Linked DNA regions of Homo sapiens: region 2 is linked to region 1. Evidence: promoter capture Hi-C in human tissues and cell types (Jung and others, 2019). All regions are on one chromosome and are shown on one strand. Each heading gives the region's core, a stretch centred on a gene start or on the middle of the fragment in contact. The rest is flanking DNA. Distances are from core to core; before and after follow the strand shown.

Evidence for each region. Contacts are between HindIII fragments. The study calls those that stand out against the background at their distance.
Region 2: a fragment that was not itself captured here is called in contact with the fragment with the promoter of ZBTB6 in region 1 in 1 of the 25 tissues and cell types used here (bladder).

What each region holds. Positions count from the first base shown.
Region 1 is chr9:122,911,983-122,914,915 of GRCh38, reverse strand. It overlaps ZBTB6 (zinc finger and BTB domain containing 6), which reads left to right and starts at 1,593. Exons shown (of 2, transcript NM_006626.6): 1 at 1,593-1,665; 2 at 2,835-2,933. The coding sequence starts at 2,844. RefSeq lists enhancers at 1-60, 1,529-1,758, 1,769-1,878. The HindIII fragment of the contact is 16,169 bases long and covers 1-2,933 here.
Region 2 is chr9:123,091,929-123,094,628 of GRCh38, reverse strand. The region is part of intron 21 of RABGAP1 (RAB GTPase activating protein 1); the gene reads right to left. Among named protein-coding and RNA genes, the nearest start is that of MIR600, 18 kb to the left of the region's middle. The HindIII fragment of the contact is 4,152 bases long and covers 1-2,700 here.

The DNA of each region.
Region 1 (2,933 bases), core at 344-2,843:
CCGGCCTGGCCAACATGGTGAAACCCCGTCTCTACCAAAAATACAAAAAGTAGCTGGGTGTGGTGGCAGGCACCTGTAATCCCAGCTACTCGGGAGGCTGAGGCAGGAGAATTGCTTGAACCTGCTAGGCGGAGGTTGCGGTAGGCCGAGATCGTGCCACTGCACTCCAGCCTGGACCACAGAGTGAGACTCTGTCTCAAAAAAAAAAGAAAAAGAATTTCTTCAGTCATATCTTCATTCAGCACAAATACTTGATGCCTACCAAGTGCTAGACTTCGAGAATACAAAGATCAGTAAGCCACTGTCCTAAATAACTCTGCCTAGATGAGGCACAAATTAATACAGGCGTGTTAAGTGCAATAATGAAGGCAGGAAAAGGGATTACAGGTTTCAAACTGGGAACCAATTATCTTAGGGCAGTTCAGGATGGCTTCAGGATGATGAGATTTATAAACGGGTTCTTTAAAGATACGTTGGGGAAGGCCGGGCTCGGTGGCTCACGCCTGTAATCCCAGCACTTTGGGAGGCCAAGGCGGGCGGATCACGAGGTCAGGAGATCGAGACCATCCTGGCTAACACGGTGAAACCCCGTCTCTACTAAAAATACAAAAAAAAAAAAATTAGCCAGGCGAAGTGGCGGGCACCTGAAGTCCCAGCTTACTCGGGAGGCTGAGGCAGGAGAATGGCGTGAACCCAGGAGGCGGAGCTTGCAGTGAGCCGAGATCCTGCCGCTGCACTCCAGCCTGGGCGACAGAGAGAGACTCCGTCTCAAAAAAAAAAAAAAAAAGCCTGGGGAAAAGGCTAGGGCACGTCAGAGGAAACAGCTGGGCCAAAAGTTTTGGGATGGAGGAACGCATTTAAGTGTGAAGCTAGATCCAGAGGTTGGGGCCATCTCCTGATGGGGCATTATCTAGGCAATCTCGAATACGGATCTTTATGATAGTTTCTGCTCTGCCACCTTTCAAGTTGTAGGTGGCCCCAATAAGGAGAGGAATCGTCCCAGAATAATCCATAAAAGGTCTGGTTACTCTGACAGACGTGCCGTAACCGAACCTCAAACCCCGTCTCCAATTCGGATGTTCAGGAGGACTCACAAAAGGAAATGGCTCGGCTGGGCGCGGTGGCTCAACCCGGTAATCCCAGCATTTAGGGAGGCCGAGGCGGGCGGATCTCCTGAGGTCAGGAGTTCGATACCAGCCTAGCCAACATGGTGAAACCCCGTCTCTACTAAAAATACAAAAATGAGCCGGGCGTGGTGGCGGGCGCCTGTAATCTCAGCTACTTGGGAGGCTGCGGAGCGAGAGTCGCTTGAACCCGGGAGGCGAAGGTTGCAGTGAGCCGAAATCGCGCCATTGCACTCCAGCCTGGGCAACAAGAGCGAAACTCCGTCTTAAAAAAAAAAAGGGATGGTGGGGGAAAACGGCTCGAGTGCCGAAACTGGGACAAGAGAGATGGGGCTTGCCGGCATTCAGGAGCCTTTCTGTCATTCCAAGAGGGGGGAAGTGAGGAAGGAAGACCGTCTCAGAATGTCCTTCCGGGGCGCCTAGAGGGCCCCAGTAAAGAATAAAGCTGGTTGGCACCGGATGTGTTTTCTTCCAGGCTAAGTCCATCTTCCGGCTTGGGCAGACGCTGCCGCGGAATCCTTGACTCTAGTTTTCTGAGTCGGTGAGTGAGTGCAAAGTAGATTCCTCAGGTGGAGGGTGCCTGAGGAAGAGGAGGAGGAGGAGGAGGACAGCTGGGCTCGGCCCCGGAGTGGCTAATCTTGTGCTGCAACCACTGGGCCGACAGGGCCTTGGCCCTTCGCAGGGTTGCCTCCAGAATACCTGTGTGCTGAACCTGGCATCCGGTTTCAGTTCAGCAGATGTTCCCTGAGCTCCTCCTGCTCTGTGTGGGCCCCTGAGCTCGGTGCAGGAACACAGATGCATCAGGCACCATCTCGCGGTGCTCAGAGAGCAGCTGACTCTCTCTGGTTGAAACGGGAGGTGGAGTCATATTAGTTTTACTTGATTTGGGCTTAAAGGAGCCTAATCACTAGCTGAAAAAAGGAACTGGAAACGCGAATGTAAGAAATGTGTATTCGTGTCTTTTTGTCTGGGTAATGATGGAAAAATTTAGTATTGAACGAGGTTCGAGTATGAAAAAGAGAATAGAAGGTGATAAAGCCATAAAGATGGGTTAGAGCCAAATCGTGATGGGTCTCGTATTCTTTCCTAAGAAATCTGGACTGTCCCGGAGGTAGAGAAGAACGATAGAAGATTTAAAGCAGAAAAGGGAAATTAAAAATAAAATAAAATAAGGGTTGTTAATCCTGGTGGCACTCAGGCGGGTAATCTGGCATACAGAAGAGTGTGGTATAAAGAAGACCTGTTGGAAGACATTGCAGTTGTCCAGGTGAACCGGAAGGAGGACCTGTTGTAGTGGTGGGGAGTAGGAAGTTTGGAGATTACGTTAAAGTTGCTAATTGGATATATTATGTTAAATCAACTTTTTGGTGGTCACAGTGCTTATATTGGATATTCAAAATTGATAGATTGTTCTTGACCACAAGGCACACAACATTTAGCAAAAGAAACAAGCTAGAAACTGTTCACTACAATTCATTGTAATGAATGTTGTAACAAAGTTATGAAAAATGTGCTATGAGATCATAGAGAAGTGCATTATAAAGTTCTCGTTTTGAGATGGTGGCATAAAGGTTCATAACACCTACATTAGACTTTGAGTCTTCTTCTTCCTAATTCAGGTTTGGGGTTTTTCGTTTGTTTTCACCATTACAGCATGGGAAAGCATTCCCTATCCTTATTACATCAATGTTTGTGTTTTATTTTGCTTAGATTGTGATCATGGCTGCTGAGTCTGATGTTCTGCATTTCCAGTTTGAACAGCAAGGAGATGTGGTCTTGCAGAAAATGAATCTTTTGAGACAGCAGAAT
Region 2 (2,700 bases), core at 72-2,571, 180 kb before region 1:
ACAAAAACATTAAATAAAACTCCAGACAAATATTCCTTATGAACATATAAATATTTAATAAGAATTAAAATCTTTAATAAAAAATAGAAACCCCAACTGGAGTTTATCCTAGGAATGCAAGGTTGGTTTACATTGAAAAGTGAATTTATTTCACTATATTAACAAAATTAAGGAGAAATACCAAATGATTATCTCAACAGACACAGGAAAAGCATTTGACAAAATTCAACACCCATTCATGACAAAAACTCTCAGCAAACAGGAACAGAGGAGAATTTATTTCCTCAACCTACTCTACGAAAAACCTACAGCTAATGTCCAGAACCAGGCAATGATGTCCACTCTAACCATTCAGCATCATTCTGAAGATGCTAGTCAGTGCAGTGAGACAAGAAAAAGAGAGGCAGATAAATATGAAAGGAAGAAAAACTGTATTCAGAGATGATATGATTGTATATGTGGAAAATCTGAAAAAATATATTTAAAAAGCTGCCAGACTAACAAATGAGTTTTTACAAGGTCACAGGATACAAGGTCACAACACAAAGACCAACTGCATCTCTAGAGACTAGCAATACACAACTGGAAGATGAAATTTAAAAAACAATACCACTTTACAAAAATAGATTAAAACATGCACGTCTTGTAAATTGAACACTAAAAAACATTGCTACTGAGAGAAACTGAAAAAGATCTTAATAAAGGAAAATTTTAACATGTTCTGGATTGAATGCTTCAACTGTTGTTCAGATGTCAGTTCTCCCCAAATTGATCTACAGATTCCATGAACCTCACTCAAAAGCCAGAGGCTTTTATTTCTAGATATTCATAAGCTGATTCTAACACTGATACAGAAATGCAAAGAACAACAAAGTCAGAGAACTCACATGAACTGATTTTAAGATTTATTATAAAGCTACAGTAAGCAAGACAGTGTGGTATTGGCTTAAGGATAGACACAGAAACAGACGGAGCAGACAGAATCAAGAAGTGAACCCGCCAATTTAGGGTCAATTGATTTTTAATAAAGGGGCCAAGCTAACTCAATGGGGCAAGTTCAGCAATCTGCAAAATGTCACAGAACTAATAAGGAGCTGAGGCAGAGTTTACATCCTGCTGGACAGCAGTTGGGCTCACCAGCAAGTTTCCTTCACTCTCATGTCTGTCTCAACACAGAGGAGTGACCCTGCTAGAGGGGACTCGGACATGGTCCTATCAGCTCTGCAGGGACCTTCCATAGCTTCCCCTCATCCTTTTAACACCAGTGTCAGGTCTAGTCATTACTCCCATTTCATACAGAAAGCTTGATTGGGGTCACCGAGGAATTAAGTGGCTGGCATGGAATTTCTCCACAGCTGTTGTGTGAAGAACAGCAAAAGTGACAGGTGATGAATAACAAAAGTGATGTATAATCAACCGAAAATACAAGAGGGCCCTGGAAATTTTAAAGCCTCACACCAGAGCTTTTCTCTGAGATGCAGGAAGGAAAGAGCTCAAAGGAATGACGTTCTTTCAAAAACCTAAGTCCCTAAAGTAAAAAAATAATGAAAGGGCCCCACACTCCTCCCTTCAGTGAGGAAGAATCTAGCTGATTTTCAGTGATGATTCAGAAGAAACTACAGAGAGAAGTCTAACTTGGGAAGGGAAAGTGAGTGTGGGAAAGGTGTGTCTGCAGCATTTTAGATGACTGCAGGATGGGCCCTGGTGTGATGCTCCTGAGCCCTGCCGCCTGCTTAGGAGGGTGAGCTCTGGTGTCAGCCCTTCAATTTGAGGGCTTGGCCACTAGCTGGGTGATCTGTGTGGGATATTTAACCTCTTTTTGCTTCAGTTTCCTCATCAGTAAAATGGGGATCATAATTATATCCCTTCTACAACACGGCCTACTCTGAGGATTTGATAATATATAGAAAGCACTTAGAACAGTGCCTAGCACTTGGTAAGTGCTCAAGAAATGTTAGCTCTTATGTCACAATCCCTGGTCCTCATGTTTTTGATACGGTTATGACATTGATTCATAGCTCCTTGTCCCATATTTACTGTGGAAACAGGCTGGCACTGTAAAAAAAAAGCCTGGGCATTCCAGTTCCATGGGCCTGGCTCTGCTTCTTCCTGGGTACCTTCAACTGAATCTCAAGTTTTATAGCTGTTAAAAAAAACAAATCCTCATCCATAAATGGAACTTACATTACTGTTCTCTCAAGGCTGAGGTAAGGGTAAGAGAGATCAAAGTTTAGTAAAATGCTTATCATAGTGCCTAGCACCACAAATCATCAGTAAATGGGAGCTCATATTATAATTCTTATTATTTTGCACTCCTAATATCAGGAATGAAACCTGGTTCTCTCACTACTGTGTCAGGATAAGATGACTTGAAAAAGGGTTTATACTGTTTAGGGGCAGGTTTTAAGAACATAAGTAGTCTACGACTCACTAGTGGGTGTCACTGTTAATACTGGGCCTGTTAGACTGGAAAATACAACAGCTCAAACTAAAAATCCACCTGGAATTTTAGCCTAAGCTGCCTCTTAATTTCATTGTAGGACACAAAGGCTCCTATTCAAGACCCATATTTTTTTTCTTTTCCTTTTTTTCCTCCTTTCTGCATGACCCATGGCTGTTATGAGGGCTGTGTTAGGCACACACCTCTGGCCCTGCTTCAGTAGTCCCTGCTCCATGTACACCTGCCTCCCTCCACTCACT